4 separate regions of the Homo sapiens genome follow, and regions 1, 2 and 4 are each linked to region 3. The links are contacts of gene promoters, found by promoter capture Hi-C in blood cells and fetal thymus (Javierre and others, 2016). All regions are on one chromosome and are shown on one strand. Each heading gives the region's core, a stretch centred on a gene start or on the middle of the fragment in contact. The rest is flanking DNA. Distances are from core to core; before and after follow the strand shown.

What was found. The method cuts DNA at HindIII sites, captures the fragments that hold promoters and counts their contacts. A CHiCAGO score of 5 or more calls a contact.
Region 1: a fragment that was not itself captured here is called in contact with the fragment with the promoter of RCAN1 in region 3 in 5 of 17 cell types (megakaryocytes, endothelial precursors, monocytes and 2 more); the score reaches 8.3 in megakaryocytes.
Region 2: a fragment that was not itself captured here is called in contact with the fragment with the promoter of RCAN1 in region 3 in 4 of 17 cell types (M2 macrophages, M1 macrophages, megakaryocytes and 1 more); the score reaches 6.6 in M2 macrophages.
Region 4: a contact is called between a fragment that was not itself captured here and the fragment with the promoter of RCAN1 in region 3, in 11 of 17 cell types (M2 macrophages, megakaryocytes, M1 macrophages and 8 more). The highest score is 13.2, in M2 macrophages.

Annotation. Positions count from the first base shown.
Region 1 is chr21:34,436,024-34,440,251 of GRCh38, forward strand. No RefSeq gene overlaps it. Among named protein-coding and RNA genes, the nearest start is that of SMIM34, 14 kb to the left of the region's middle. The HindIII fragment of the contact is 3,424 bases long and covers 539-3,962 here.
Region 2 is chr21:34,407,055-34,411,052 of GRCh38, forward strand. It overlaps LOC105372793 (salivary glue protein Sgs-3), which reads left to right. Exons shown (of 6, transcript XR_001755015.2): 2 at 626-894; 3 at 1,236-1,366. Among named protein-coding and RNA genes, the nearest start is that of C21orf140, 8.0 kb to the left of the region's middle. The HindIII fragment of the contact is 1,414 bases long and covers 864-2,277 here.
Region 3 is chr21:34,612,780-34,616,710 of GRCh38, forward strand. RCAN1 (regulator of calcineurin 1) reads right to left here and starts at 2,334. Exons shown (of 4, transcript NM_004414.7): 1 at 1,981-2,334. The coding sequence starts at 2,232. RefSeq lists silencers at 1,849-1,948, 2,139-2,568. The HindIII fragment of the contact is 8,899 bases long and covers 929-3,931 here.
Region 4 is chr21:34,389,080-34,393,560 of GRCh38, forward strand. It overlaps SMIM11 (small integral membrane protein 11), which reads left to right. Exons shown (of 4, transcript NM_058182.5): 4 at 1-72. Among named protein-coding and RNA genes, the nearest start is that of C21orf140, 9.8 kb to the right of the region's middle. The HindIII fragment of the contact is 335 bases long and covers 2,405-2,739 here.

The DNA of each region.
Region 1 (4,228 bases), core at 1,001-3,500, 180 kb before region 3:
TAAGTCTTTAATCCGTCTTGAATTAATTTTTGTATAAGGTGTAAAGAAGGGATCCAATTTCAGCTTTTTACATATGGCTAGCCAGTTTTCCCAACACCATTTATTAAATAGGGAATCCTTTCCCCATTTCTTGTTTTTGTCAGGTTTGTCAAAGATCAGGTGGTTGTAGATGTGTGGTATTACTTCCAAGGGCTCTGTTCTGTTCCATTGGTTCTGTTCTGTCTCTGTTTTCGTACCAGTACCATGCTGTTTTGGTTACTGTAGCCTTGTAGTATAGTTTGAAGTCAGGTAGCATGATGCCTCCAGCTTTGTTCTTTTGGCTTAGAATTGTCTTGGCAATGCGGGCTCTTTTTTGGTTCCATATGGACGTTAAAGTAGTTTTTTCCAATTCTGTGAAGAAAGTCATTGGTAGCTTGATGGGGATGCCACTGAATCTATAAATTACCTTGGGCAGTATGGCCATTGGCAAACACTAATGTTTTTAAACTGTTCTAGAGAGCATGGAGAAAGGAGAAAACCTTCCAAATTATTCCTGTGAAGCTTGCATGTCAATGATTCCATAACAATAACTATAGAATCAAATAACCACAATAAAAGAAAAACACAGACCAACTCCACTTATGGATATAGATGTAAATATTCTAAATACAATATTAGCTGATAGATCTAACACTGCATTAAAAGATTTGTGGAAGGAGTTGTTCAATATTAGGAAATCCACTCTGTGATTATCTCAAGTTAGCAATTAGATGTATATTCAATGCTGAAATAACAGAAGCACCCCAGTTTAGTCAGAAATAAGACCCAATTACCCATTATCACCACCACCATTTAGTATTGCACTGGGGAATTACCAATTCAGTTAGACAAGAGTGGGGAAGAGGTACAAAAACTAGAAAGAAGGTGGCAAAAACAATCATTGACTGTATGATTGGAAAAAATAAGAGAATCAATTGCAAAACCATTAGAAAGAGCAGGATAATTCAGGAAGCTCAGGGGGCACAAAATAAATGTTTTTACAAAACAATATCCAAGAATCTATATTAACAACAATATCTTTGAGATATAATTGAATAGAAGATTCCATTTACAATAGGAAACCCCAAAGATAGAACACCCAAGAGTTGCACAAAATTTACACAAAGAAAATCTAAACAACAGAGGGACAAAACGGAAGATTTGACTACATGCAAGTATATTTCCTAGTCTTGGGTAGAAAGACTCATCTGCATAAAGATGACAATCCTTCCTGAATTAATCTATAAATTTAGTATAATTCCAATGGAAATTTCCCTTGTTTTGTTGTTGTTGTGCTGTTTTTGTTTTGTTTTCCAGACTACACTGAATGCCAAATATTCCATTTAGTGATTTTCTTCTTCCCTTTTCCTTTCTAATGACATATTTTGTGCTTTTCAGACCTGCCTTTCTTTCTCTCGGCACCAATGAATAAAGTTCCAGCTTTAAGGCTTGAAAAATCACAGCAAAGTTGCAGCAAAATTAAAAGGAAAAAAATGTTCTTTTTTTTTCCTGCAGCTGCAGAGAGTGGCAGATAGCATCCTGCGTGATAAACGCCTATTCTTGGCTAGGCGCAGTGGCTCACGTCTGTAATCTCAGCAACTTGGGAGGCCAAGGCAGGCAGGTCACCTGAGGTCAGGAGTTCGAGGCCAGCCTGGCCAACAAGGTGAAACCCCGTCTCTACTAAAAATACAAAAATTAGTTGGGTGGTGGCGCACACCTGTAATCCCACCTACTTGGGAGGCTGAGGCAGGAGAATTGCTTGAACCTGGGACGTGGAGGTTGCAGTGAGCTGAGATAGTGCCACTGCACTCCAGCCTGGGTGAAAAGAGTGAGACTCTATCTCAAAACAAACAAACAAACAAACACCTATCCTTGCCTATGTCATTTTAACAAAGGAGGAAGTAAATCCCCTGGATTTCAGAGGCTGATGCTCTGCCCAAGAAAAGCAACCCTAACTTCCCCAAAGGCTAAAATTCAGACTGATTGGCTCTGGCAGAGATATTTAAATTGATACCTCTGTTTCCTCAAAGGTATAAGCCTTTGCGAACTTTCTTTGGTTTCTCTCTTCTCTCACAGGAGGCAGGGGATAAACAAATATGTTAGATTTCTTATTTAAACAAAGAGCTTGAGGGTTTTGCCTCATCGAAATTAACAGAGACAAGTTGATGCTAATATTTTTATGGAAAATCGAATATGCAAAAATAGCCAAGGAAATTCCAGGGAAAAAGTAATGAAAGAAAATATCACCAAAAGATGTTAAAACATTTTGGAAAGCCACAGAAATTAAAAGTGTTTGATCCTAGCATATAAACAAGCAGACAAGGGGCTGGGCATGGTGACTCATGCCTGTAATCCCAGCACTTTGTGAGGCCGAGGCTGGTGGATCACCCGAGGTCAGGAGTTCGAGACCAGCCTGGCCAACATGGTGAAACCTCGTCTGTACTAAAAATACAAAAATTAGCCAGGCATGGTGGCACGCACCTGTAGTCCCAGCTACTTGGCAGGCCGAGGCAGGAGAATTGCTGGACCCTGGGAAGCAGAGGTTGCAGTAAGCCGAGATTGCACCACTGCACTCCATCCTGGGCGACAGAGCAAGACTCTATCTCAAAATTAAAATAAACAAACAAACAAATAAATAAATAAACAGGCAGATAGATCAGTGGAACAGAATAAAATCCAGAAATAGACTGAAAACATTCAGGAAAACAGTATAAAATAAAGGGGACATTTCAAATCAATGGAGAAAAGATTAGTTATCTCAGAAATGAATGGGACGATTGAGTAGACTGGGAAAGAGTAAAACTGGAGCTCTACACACACCAAAATACATTCCAGATGGGGCTAAGATTTTATATATCTATATATGTTTAAATAAAGCCATGAAAGAACTAGAGCAAACATGAGAGATTTATTTTTATAATCCCAGACGGTGGCAATCTTTCCAAGTGTGGCACAAAAGTCAGAAATCATTAAAAAAAGACTGATAAATCCAACTACACAAAGTTAGACATTTCTTTATGGCAAAAAATGCTATCAAAAAGTCAAGAGATCAATGATAATGGGGGAAACATTTGTAACACATACAATAAGCTGTCCAATTTTTTAATAGTCAAAGACTTTAACATTAAGAAACAGACCAGCTGGCTGGGCATGGTGGCTCGAGGCTGGGGGATCACTTGAGGTCAGGAGTTCAAGATCAGTCTGGCCAACATGGCAAAACCCCGTCTCTACCAAAAATACAAAAATTAGCTGGGCATGGTGGGGCATGGTGGTGCATGCCAGTAATCCCAGCTACTCAGGAGGTTCTTCTGGCTTCTCAGCTTGCAGACAGCCTATTGTGGGACCTTATGATTGTGTGAGTTAATACTTAATAAACTCCTGTTTATATTATGTGTGTGTGTGTGTATATATATGTGTGTGTGTGTGTGTGTGTATACACACATATACTGGAATATATGTATATACATATATACATATATACACATACATATATATACACATATACATATATACACATATATATACACATATACATATATACATATATACACGTATACATATATACATATATACACATATACATAAATACATATATACACATATATATACATATACTATATATATACATATACATATATTCATTCCATTAGTTCTGTCCCTCTAGAGAACCCTGATGAATACAGTGGGCTACACACCTATTGGAATGGCCAAAACCCAGAACACTGACAACACCAAATGCTGGTAAGGATGTGGCGTTTTTTATCCGCATTCATTGCTGATGGTAATGCAAAATAGTGCAGCCAGTTTGGAACACAGTTTGGCAGCTCTTTACAAAACGGCGTGTACTCTTACCATACGATCCAGAAACTGTATTCCTAGGTATCTACCCAAAGGAGTTGAAAACTTGTAACCACACAAAAACTTGCACACAGATGCTCATAGCAAGCTTTATTTATTATTGCCCAAACTTGGAAGCAAACAAGATGTCCATCAGTAGGTGAATGGATAAATAAACTGTGGTGTATCCACACAGTAGAATATTATTCAGTGCTAAAAAGAAATGAGCTATCAAGACATGAAAAGACATGGAGGAAACTGAAATGCATATGACTGAGTGAAAGAAGCCCTTATGAAAAGCTACATACTGTATGACTCTAACTATGTGACATTCTGAAAAAGGCAAAACTATGGTGAAAACATCAGTGGTTGC
Region 2 (3,998 bases), core at 321-2,820, 210 kb before region 3:
ATTGTCTCAATGATTGCCTTCCTTCCTTCCTTTCTTTTTGAGATAGAGTCTCACTCTGTCACCCAAGCTGGAGCACAGTCGCTCTATCTTGGCTCACTGCAACCTCTGCCTCCCAGGTTCAAGCACTTCTCCTGCCTCAGCCTCCTGAGTAGCTGGGATTATAGGTACCCGCTACTACAGCTGGCTAATTTTTGTATTTTTTTTTTTTTATAGAGATGGGGTTTCACTATGTTGGCCAGGCTGGTCTCAAACTCCTGACCTCAGGTGATCCACCTGCCTCGGCCTCCCAAAGTTCTGGGATGAGAGGTGTGAGCCATCACGCCCAGCTGAGTATGTGTGTGTGTGTGTATGCTTATGGGGATGTGCAAATGTGTGTGTGAATGTGTGCACGTGTCCTTGTGAATTGTGAATACCCAGGACTTGAGCACACTCAGTTCCTGATGCACTTCCTGTTTTCTCAGCAGCTGAGCTCAGGCCTGGAACTGAGTGACAGCACACCCGGGCACCTGTCTCCCTGGGCACCCCTCCCACGCCTGCTTCCCACGGCATTCCCAGCTCCCACCACTGGGAAGGAGCTGGAATCATGAGTCGGGATAATCACCGAATTCTCTTCGACCTTCCTCAGCTCCTGGTTTGTTAAGGCAAACCCCCATCTCTGGCTTCTCCTGGAACCTCACCTGGGAAAGAAAGAGGCAGCCCCGGAGCTGGAAGCTGCTTCAGGGCTCACCCGGAACAGCAGACTCAACCTGGACCCATCCAGGCATCTCCTGGGAGTTTCACCCAATTGCTTCTGCCTGGCACCAGCTCAGAGGTTCTGACAGAATTGGCCTGGGGTGAGACCTGGCATCCATGGGATTTTTACAAGCTTCCAGGTGATTCTACAGGGAAGCCAAGGTGAGAACCCCTGTCCTAGAACCAGGTCTGATCAGGGGCCGGTGGGGAACTGTGGGTGGAGAACATTAGTGCTTCCAGAGCCTCAGGGTTGGTTTTGAAAGGAACGTAACACATTTTTTTTTCTCACAAAGACATATAGAGAGAGACTTTTTAAAATAGACATATATATAGAGAGATGTTTTAATAAAGAGAGGTTTGGGTTTATATAAGTAAAAAAGATGATAGAAAATAGAGAATGAGATTAGGCTTCCCCTTGCTCTCAAAAAATGGTTTGAGAGTCTTGGAACTGGTTCCACTCTATGATAGCCATGAGTACTGTTCGCCCAACTTTTGGTTCTCAGCCTTCCAGGCCCCGGTGGGATGAGACTTCCCTGCCCCCACGGTTGAGAGGAGCCATGGGCTTATTCTAGCCAATGAATGGTGGATGGACGTGACTCGTGTCTCTTCCAGGCTGGAGCATTTAATTGTCCAGGTGAGATACTCAGGGACTCGTCCCTCCAGAGCTGAGAATGGCCATGTTTCCAGAGGGTCTGCAGGAGCAACCTGAGTCTCAGAGCACAGCCACCAGCAGACCTGCTGCACGCATGTGGCGGGGGAAAGAAAGAAAGCCAGCTGTCTGCAGCCACTGAGAGTTTGGGGTGGTTGTTTCTCATGACAAAACCAGCTCACCCTGACTTATACAAAGTCTTTGAGTTATATAGATGGAGAATGAGGCTCTTGGGTCCCTCTATTCTCACAAAGCAATAGCCTAGCTAAATCCATCTAACTAGGGAGCAGAAAAGGGGATGTGCTGGCTTGCACACCCTAGACAGTTGTTCAAGAAGTCAGGACACCAGGCCTGGAGTGATACTTCAGCCATCCTTCTAGGTGAGGGTCTTGAGGCCACACAGACAGAAGTGGCAGAGATGGGACACACATTCGTCTTCTCACTCACAGTCTGGCACTGAGCTGTGGGCTGCTGGGACACCATGCCCCCATACGAGTAGCCTTCCCACTCCTTACCTTGAAGGAAAAGTGTTTTTTGGACAAATACCTGATGGAAACATTACATGGGCCTTGGAATCTGTTAGATCTAGCTTCCTGAAACTCTTGCTAGCTGTGTGACAATATACAAGTTTCTTAACCTCTCTGAGCCTCAGTGCTCTAATTACACTCCCCTCATAGAGTTTCTAAGAGCATCCTGGGGCTGGCACGTGTCAACGCACCCAGTATTTGATAGAGTTTGTTAAACGTTGGTTATCCTCTCTCCCTATCGCACCTCAAATGGTAAGGGCTGCCTGCCAGCTTCCATATCCCCAGCAGTGCCCTGAGTTGTTCAGATGTTCATCCATCTCCCACAGAACTCAGGTTCCTTTGGAGGAAGCCACATCAAGTCCTGCTCCAAGCTTAAGCCAGTCAGCACATTCCATGCTCTGCCCCATTGCCAGGGTTCAGGAGTATGCTCGTGATCTAAGCACCCCCACTCCCAGATACAGCTCAAGATTCTTGCTTGGACTTCTGGGCACTCAGGCTCCTCCGAGAGGGAATCAAACTTACTTCTCTCCATGTCCTTTCCTCTAGGAGATGCGTCTTTCATAAAACTCTCATCAACACTGTTCAGACATGTCCCACCCCAGCAGGGGACAGCCTGGGCTCAAGCTGGGATCCCTACTTTATTTATTTTCTGCTAATTAAACTTCCTAATATACTCCACACTAAGTGTGCTTGCAAGGCAGGGGGTGTGGGATAAGCGGCCCTGCCTGGCTGGGAGAGGGGGCAGCTCCCTGCTGTACTATGTATTAATAAAGAGACACATGCATGGCAGGGCTTGTCTGGGCCTTGGTGGCAGCTTAGGACAGAAGGCACGTGACAGTCAGGGGTTCAAACAACCCAGGGAGAACACTGCTTCAGGGAAGACAGCTCAGCATCTTCCTGGCAAAGATAATGACATTGATAATACTCTCCAAAGAATTTCAGGATTTTGAGCAATCAGAAAAGCAACACAGAAATTCATGTCATCAAAACGATATGGCTCTATTGGACACTTAAGACATTTATTGGAGGCTCAACAACATAATCCTGCTGGTTGGTTTTACTTCATTGATTTTCCGTTGTGTCTGATTACATTGCTAATGCTGATGGTGGATGAGCTACGGCTCTTTTCCTGCCTGTCCTGAGGTTTATCCACCAATGTTTCAGTTCTGTTTTAAGATATTGTCCTAAGCCCCCAGCATCGCATGCATGCTGTTTTTTTGTTTTGTTTTGTTTTGTTTTTTACAAAGAGTTCATAGCCCGTGGAAGACTCTCCTCCATCACACACTTAGGTTCCCTCCACACCAGGCCTGGAAGGAGTCTAGCTTCTGGGGACTGTACATATGCTGTGGACCATGCAGAACCTGGAGAGGCGGTGACCCCTTCTAGAAGTGATCTGCCTGAATCCTTCCCTCTGGAGGAGGCATTTATTAAATGCCAGGTTCCTGAAAGGCTCTGAGATGGGCACTCCCTCTCCTGAGTCGTCCCTTCCATTACTGCTTTCCTATTTCTGGCCAGGGTTCCCTGGCCCCTCCTCCCTGCTCCCATGGGACCCCAGTTCATCCCCATCTTTGCTCAATTGCCCTGCACTGTAGTAATCCATTGGCACTCTTGTCTTCTCCAGGAGAAATAGTTGGAGGAGAAGTTTATAGGGTTTCCTGGGCCAGGGCTGGTCTACAGTCACTGGACAGCAGGAAACGACCCTTCGGGGCCTAGGAGGGCCAAGGCTGGTGGGCAGGTACAGGGGGAGCCAGCACTGCTGTCCACCACTGTGCAGCCTGGAGGCTGTTTCCCATGACCCTGCTGATGGGACCCAAGGCACCCCAGGCCACCCACTCCCCTGCCCCCAGCAGGGTGTCAGCTCCCCGGCTTCCCTGCATGCCTGCCTGACATGGACAGTGCACCTTCGGGCCACACTTGCCCTGCTAGCGAGCCTCCAGTGAACTGGGAATTCCACAGAGTGTAGAGGACTCGCCCCAGCACTGTGCTGAGAGGCTTCACCAAACTGTAGCCTGGCTTCCACCTGCACTAAGCTGCATCCCCAGAGGCGACCCCAGCCCTGGCTGAGTCTTGGCTCAAGACTTTGCAATGCA
Region 3 (3,931 bases), core at 1,084-3,583:
CCAGCTTCCAGCTGTTGCTCATGGCTGCAGGCCTGGACATCCCTTGTTAGTTCCCTCAGGACTGCCCCAATTCACCAGCTCTTCAACAAAACCCCCACAGTGTTAGGACCTGACCACTCTGACCAAGCCCCCTCCCCTTGCTCTCTATCCCTGTTTCAGTCTCTTCATCGCATTTATCACTATCCGAAATGATCTTGTTCACTTGCCTTTTTCCTATTGTCTATCTCCCCCTCAACCACTGGATCCTAAGCTCCATGAAAGCAAGGAGCTTGAAATGTTCCCTGCTTTATCCTCTGGGCCTAAACCAGTGGCTGGAACACAGTAAGCACTCAATAGACAGCAAAGCCTGAATGAACCAATGCTACATTGTCTCTGCTCAAAATATCACCATATCAGTAAGACCTTCCCTGATCATCTTATGGAAAATAGCAATCTCCCCTCCACTCCCAGATCTCCACTCCCTCCTCCTGCCCTCCAAGTCTTATTTTTTCCTATAGCATCATTACTTTCTGATACATTTGATATTTCTTTATTGCTTGTTTCCCTTCCAAAAAATGTCAACCCTGGAGGCAGAAATGCTATTTTATTTACTGATGCAGCCTCAGAGCCTAGGACAGTACCTATCCCGTAGCGAAGTCTCAATAAATATTTGTTAAAATGAATAGCTAGCGAAGTGGGCAAACTTTCATACAACACAATTTCAGGATTGTATCCAACACTGGAAAAAATTGTCTCCAACACTACAAGTAAGTGCCGTCTTACGTGACTTGACCTTGTTCTAGCAGAAAGACAGCCTAGAACTCCTAAGGAAAAGGTCTGAAATGCTGGCTAGCGCTTAGTTTATATGGAGAGGAAAAGGTTTTAGAGTAAGATCAATCAGTAAGACCCTGAGTTCCTGACAATTGCTGCTCTAGAAAGCATGCCTGGAAGCTTACCTAAGCACACGGCCATTGTAATTCCTTTCAGAAAGTAAGTGAACATATAAATTATAAATAAATGACACTTACATACACCATTCTGTTTCACAGTGGTGTTGTATTGGCAGCAGCCTTCAACTATAGTTCATTGACAGCATTTGTGGACCCACAGCCAAGCGCTGAAAGCACTGCTTTTTTTGACAGCTGCTCTCCTAATGGGGCATCTCTCAAAGACCGGTTTCATTCTGTGACGCCCACGTTGTCCACATTTTATTCTGCACAATAACTGCAGATTTGAAATAAATTCTTCCTCCCCACCACCATTATTGATTACTCATACCTGCCCCTCACCCTCCAAAGTGTCTAAATTGTGTGGATTTTGCGGGGGTGGGGGGAGGCGGGGGAAGGAGTCGACTCCCCATGTACTGGGTGTCCCCGATGGCGGCAAGCCACACCTTCACACAAGGGGGCAAGGTTCTTGACTAAATATCCTAAAGGTCTGAAAGATGGTCCCCTTCCCCCCAACACAATTCCACCAAAACTGGCCAGCCGCTGGCTAATGAGCAACCACGGATCCTCACCCAAACATTGGCTTTTCTTCCAATAGTGCAGATTGGGAATGCAGGGACGTCGTCCTATTTATGAACACTGAGTCACGTCGCCGCTCAATGTCTGTTTCCTCCTCCCTAGGAATGAGGTGACCCCCTCCTCCAGCGAGTAAATGCGGGGCGATGGCGAGAGCGCAGGGGGCGGCGGCGCTGCCCCACCTTGGGGAGCGAATTCACCCCCCTAGTCGCACCAGCCTGGGCGCACACGGGGGCCGGGGCGAGCCTGTGGGACTCTGCAGTGAGCTCCGCGCGCCCCGGGGGTGCTAGGGGACCGGGACCCTCGGGGCGCCGTCCCCACGCCCCAGCCCTGACGGGTCCGCGGCCGAGCAGCCCGGGGGACGTCGCTGCCTCCCCGCCCCGCGCGCGGCCGGGACTGGGCGCTGCGACCCGCGCCGCCTCCTCGGGCAACAAGTGTCCGCCCTCCGCCCCGACGGCCCGCCCGGCGCGGTCCTCACCCGGCACAGGCCGTCCACGAACACGCGCGGGTCCAGGTGACAGGCGATGGTGGCGCTGGGCAGGTCCTGCAGGTCCACCTCCTCCATCTCGCAGTCAATGAAGCTCCAGTCGCCGCCGCCCTCGTCCGCCTCGGCCGCCCCCGAGAGGGGCGCGAAGGGCCGCAGCGTCACCCCGGGCCGCGCTCGCGCCTCGGCCGCCTCCGCCGCCTCCGCCGCGGCCCCGAGCTGGGGACCGGCCACGCCGTCCTCCATCCCCGCGCCCGCGCGACCCTGTGCGCCCCAGCGGGCTGCTCCGGGCTTGCGCGCCGGAGCCTCACGCGCTCCGGTCCGCGCCCGGCCGGCGGCTCCGCCGTTAACCCCCTCGGAATCGCGCGGCGGCAGGCGGCGGGCTGTCAGCAGTCTCCCAGCGACACGGCCTCCCAGCGCCAGCCCCGCCCGTCACCGTTCCGCGCGGGAGGGGCAGAAGCCCGGCGCGGCGACCGCCCCCCCAGCCCCTAGGGCCGGCCACCGGCAGATCCAACGGTGGCCCCTTTAAGGCCGGCGCCGGTTGGGTTATTGTACCCCGCCCTTCCAGGAGACGGGGCCAATAAAGGAACGGAATTCTCTTCACGTGACCTTCCTTCTGCCGCCCGAAGCCCGAAGCCTCAGGGCGGCCATGTTGGTTAGGGGCAAAGTCCTCGTCCCCAGTTCCGCTTTTCTGACAGCTGGTGCCAGCTGAAGGACGCCGGGCAGAGTCCTCGGCTCTTGGGCCCTTGGGGTGATAACTGGGGAGGCAACGTTTTTGTGGTTCCCATGCGGGGACGTTTTGAAGCACAGGGGCCCACTTTTGGGAATTTAAGCGAGACATAGTCTCCCTGTGGCTCTGTGGCCCCTGGCAAGTGGTTAGATGCTTACCGTATATTATCAGATATAGTCGCAATAAAGACTGAACTAGACCATGATAACAATGCCTTACTTTTCTATTTCAGCGTATTAGTCACTATACCATTGTGAAAATTTATGTAATTAGAAGTAATTTTTCTGAATTACCATTATATGCTATGTACAATAGGACATAACGAAAGAATTAAGAGATCACCCCTTTCCTTTGGGGAATAGCGGAAAAATAAGAGGACCTCAAGTGAGCAGACATGTCTCTTCCTGAAAAATAGAATTCTTTTTTGGACAGTATGATACAGTGAGAACTTGGGTCTGAATTTCAGCTTTGCTTTTTAACTACTTGTACAAATAAGCTGAATCTTAGTTTCCTCATCTGAAAAAAATGAAGACATATTACTAAGAATTCAGTCAGTGCTTAATAAATGGTAGCTGTTTATGCACTGGGTTCTTTGGAGGTTGTGAAATTACAGTTATATTTTTTCTTAGAGTAGGCTTACTCTCTAGTTAGGAAGTGTTAGTAATTATAACAAAAAGTATATCCAACAGCTGAGATTTATTCAGAACTTGCCATGTGCACGGTTCTATGATTACTATTATCATAGTCTTAGGACAGTTTGTGTCCTCAGGGAGCTAAACCCAAGAGGAATAATAATACCCATCTAGAGATAACTCATAAAATAGAATATGATATGAGGATGTGAAGAAATTGGAACCGTCATACTGTGAAAGGGAAATCTTGGGCCCCCAAAATCACTAAGGAAAACTAAAGCTGGAAGTTGCTTAGAGCCAACCAGCCTCCCATTCCATTCAAAGTCACCCCTCTGCTCACTGAGACAGATGCATTTCACCGAGACAGATTTGCCTCCTTTATAAAGACTAATCAGAAACCCAAAGAGTGTAACCGTTTGTCTATCACCTATCTGTGACCTGGAAGCTCCCTCCTGCCTCCTGCCTTTGCAGTAGTCTTCCTGCCTTTGCTTCAAGTTGTCCTGCCTCTCCAGACCAAACCAATGTACTGCTTACATACATTCATTGATGTCTCATGTCTCCCTAACATGTATAAAACCAAGCT
Region 4 (4,481 bases), core at 1,322-3,821, 220 kb before region 3:
TAAAATTAAAATTAAAAAAAATAATAATAACCAGTATTTTGTTTACTAAAATAAAATGCCTTTGTAAAAAAAGGAGTCGTGGCCTTTGGAATAAGTCAAATTGTGTATCTCTTTCTCTTTCTCTTACACAGCACCCTCTACCCCGTGTTGTAAAGCGGGGGGTTTTGTAAACTTACACCTCCCCCACCATCTCAAGCTGGGGGGTCCCAGGTGAGAGGCTTCCATAGAGGACAAGGTGGTGCAGAAACATCTGCTGTGGGAGTGGGGTCCCCAGCACTGGGTGCTTCGGCCAGCTACCCCCGACCCCAGGCCCCCTCATAGGCTGCCCTCCCATACCCTCCTTTCTCGTCTTTTCCTCCTACAGGTGCTACACCCCTGTGAGAGTGTTTTGGAGTGTTTTCATTGTTAGGGTGGAGGGAGGCTGTGTGTGTCCAGGAAAGGTGACTCCTGTGTTAACCATGAGGGTCCTCGCAGGGAGGAATCGTTGGGAGCCCTAGGGTGTGTTTTGTCCTCTCCTCACCTGTTTGCTCCTTGGGATTTGCTGATGAGAAATGAAGGGTAGGGCACCCTAGGAGCCACTGGAACCAAGGGCAGGGAGGATGGGAAGATGTTTTACTCAGCACCTAACACACGCAGATCCCTGTGACAAGAGCTCATGCTCTCCCACTTCTTCGCAAGACCCCAGAGTGGATGGGGAGTGAGGTGGCAGCAGCTGGCACTGGAAGCAGTGCGGAGTGTTTGGTCTGGTTGCTGATGGCTGCATGGGAAACTTGCAGGAGTGTGTGTTAGTAAACGTCTCCCCGTCCTGGCCCAGTTTGTGTCGAACATGCGTTTTCCATGTGGGGAGTCAGGGGAGTTCCATCTTAAATTGCACTGTGCTTGCTGGATGCTCTTCAGGACAATTTAGGAAGCAGGAAAGAATTTACAAAGTTCTGAGGACAGACAGACCCTGCTCCTACAAGCTGCAGTGCTCACCATAGTCAAAGTGGACTTTCACGTAAGCCCAGACCTCATTCTCTCTGAAGGAGGCCGCTCCAGCCTTTGCCAGGAGCCCTGGTGACTTTATTCTGCCTAATCCTGCTGCGGCCTGGGGTCCTGTTAGAACGTGAATGGAAGACCACAGCAGAGGTGGGATGCCCTTGGATTTCTGCCATCCCCACGCTTTCGTGACATGCTCAGATGGGGCCTAGAACTGACCCTGGGCCGTGGCCTACCATCCTCCCTTTGTCAGGGCCTCCTTGCACCCTGGCAGGTTACCCCACCCACCCTGGCCCATGTTCCTGCCCCAGGGGCCTGGCCTCTCTGCTGCCCACCCTGCAGGTGTAGGGTATCACCTGCTCCTGCCTTGCCTGGCATCAGACCTGCTACCTTGGCACCACTTCCTCCCTCATGCCCACCCGCCTGTGTGCCTCATAAGTCCAAGGCGGGGGATCTGCTGACCAGTAGACACTCATGTGCTAAACACAAGCGCTTTTCTAGGCTTTGGGATTTAAAGCTACACTTTGGAATTTGTGGAAGATCTGGCCATCTTGGAAAATTAGGTAGAAGGTGACATAAGGACTGGACTAAACCACTGATCATCCCAACAGTGCCCGTGGCTTTTCTGTTTTTTGTTTTTGCTTTTGTTTTTTTAGAGATGAGGACGTGCTGTGTCCCTCAGGTTGGAGTGCAATGGTACAATCATAGCTTATTGCAGCCTTGAACTCCTGGGCTCAAGCGATCTTCCCACCTCAGCCTCCCGAGTAGCTGGGACTAGGCCCTGCTAATTTATTTATCTTTTGTTTAGAGACAAGGGTCACGCTGTACTGCCCAGGCTGGGTGTAGGTTTTTTCTGAAGAGCATTTGGGAGTTTTGTTTTTGCTTGGTTACTTTTCCTATGCACCCTTCTACCACTAGGGGGAGATGATTAATCACTAATTGAAGGGATTTTGTTCGTTTTTTATGTTTTGGGTTTTTTTGTTTGTTTGTTTGTTTGTTTCAATAAAGAAAGAGTTTAATTGCAGTAAGGCAGGCCGCGCAGGAGATGGCGTTCTTATTCAAATCGGTCTCTCTGAAGGCTCAGAGGTTAGGGGTTTTCAAGGCGGAGTTCTTGCTATCATTCCACTCCTTAGGTACATGAAGTTGGTAGATGTGTAGTTTGATGTTAAATTATTGGGTGGATGCATGCACCGCTGGTTGTAGAGACTGGTAAAGCCCACTAGCAGGACCCCACCTGGACCAAAGCAATCCCTCAACCCGCTGGACCATGACCGAGAACAAACACAAAGGACCTGAAATGCGTTGTGAAGGCCAGAAGCCGACATCCACATTCTCCACCCACGGAGAGCCCCAGAGTCCCTCATGCACATCCTGCTTGATCTATTACACACATTCACACATTCGCAACACATTTGTTTGGTTTTCAAGCTTACAACATATTAGAAACAGAAAGGAAGAAAGGCTGTCAGCAGCAGAAATACCTTTGAGCAAGAGGGACGGTCTTTGAGAAGCAGACTTGAGAACTCACCGTGTGCTCTTCATGCGCCAGACACTGCGGCAGCCACAGCGTCCCACATGGGATGCCACACGTGATGATGTTATGTTCATGGTGATGACCTCAGGCGTGAAGAAGAGGTTCAGCCGTTTCACACAGTCTGTTTAACAAGCACATACATAACACAGACATACGTGAGGAATCTCAGAAACCAAATAATTCAAACAAAGAGTCTGGGATTCTTTCAAAAGCGTTGCCTCTGCCCAAGCTTTCTTCAAATTCTGTCTATAGGGAAACGTAGCTGTCAATGTCTCATTCCCGAAGACTTCCAGATGCCTGGATCTTTAGAGTTCTCCACCTCACCCCGAGTTGATTACACAAATGTTCCTGGGGCTTTGCTTAGTGCCCTGCTCTGTGCCAGGCCCCACAGGCAGAGATGGCAGGGACCCAGGCCTGACGTTGGAGAGCTCCTGACCCACTGCCGGAAACACACGCACCATCACACCATGAGGGAGCTCCCCCATGCAGATCTCATCTGTGTCAGAGTGAAGCCAGAGGATGGACGGTGGAGAGTCTAGAAGGAGAAGAGAAAGGAGGATGAGTTCTCAAACATGAGCAAGCAGGAGAGGCCATTTAAAATGCACACTCTGGCCTGGTGCAGTGGCTCATGCCTGTAATCCTAGTGGAGGCCGAGACAGGAGGATCACCTGAGGTCAGGAGTTTGAGACCAGCCTGGCCAACATGGTGAAACCCTGTCTCTACTAAAAGAAAACCAAAAATTAGCTGGGCGTGGTGGTGCATGCCTGTAATCCCAGCTCCTCCGGAGGCTGAGGCAGGAGAATTGCTTGAACCCGGGAGGTGGAGGTTGCAGTGAGCAGACATCGCACCACTGCACTCCAGCCTGGGTAAAAGAGTGAGACTCTGTGTCAAAAAAAAAAAAAAAACCAACCTAAAAAATAAAAATAAAAATAAAATGCAGACTCCTGGGCTGGATTCCAGGTCCACTGCATCAGAACCTGCAGGAGAAGGACCAGGAATTTGTGATACGAACATCCCCAGGCAATTCTTGACCCTCCTTTTGAGACCTACACTGTAGAAGATGGGCAGAGGGAGAGGCAGCAGGAGCCCAACCTGGGAAGGAGCCATCGGGAAAGGTGGGAGGAGGGGCAGGAGACAGCGCACGCGAGGCAGCAAATCCTTCAGCCCTTACTCCCCAAGAGCTCACAGCTGCCTCCACAGAGGGTAACGGTATCATTATCCCCTTTTCGCAGATAAGGAAACTGAGGCAGAGAGGCCCTGCCTAAGGTCCCCCAGCTGGTGGGAGGCAGAGACAGGAACCAGCCCTCATGGTCTCACTGTGAGACTGGACTTTTCACAGCTGTGCGGTCGAGTCTGAGCCAAGTAAAGTAAAGCGAGTTTTTGTACTTCGAAGTCTGGGACATAAAATCTTCAAGACGTCAGCATCAGTGACACGATGGTGACAGAGGCCAGCATTGCTTGTTGTATCTTTTTCCATCCTGTTCCTATCTACACTTCCATTCTTCTGTTCATTCTGCTTGCATTTCCCACCCAGATGGCTTTCACGGACACACACACACACACACACACCGCACACACACACATCACTCACAGACGCACCCTGTGCCCAATGTCAAAAGACAAAACTGCAACACGTTTAGTCATAGACCTCATTGTCTTTTATTCTTGATTCATGAATGGGGCAGCCTCCCTTCTATAAAACAGAGCAAGAGCTCCCACCGGACAATTGCAGAACAGTGGGCTTTGTAAGGTGGGGACAAGGAAACAGAACAATAGAAAAGAAGCTGATGGGTTAACATCAGGTTACTTCAGGACCTCCTAATCACGCTGACTCAGGTAGACCAGAAGCTCCTGTTTTCAGGAAAAACTAATCTGTTTGGGGACCTACCTGCTTCCTTATTAAAGTTTTGGGTTGATTATATGGCTCTTAGCATGACTGACTCCATTTTGGTTTGGTTTGATCTGGTCT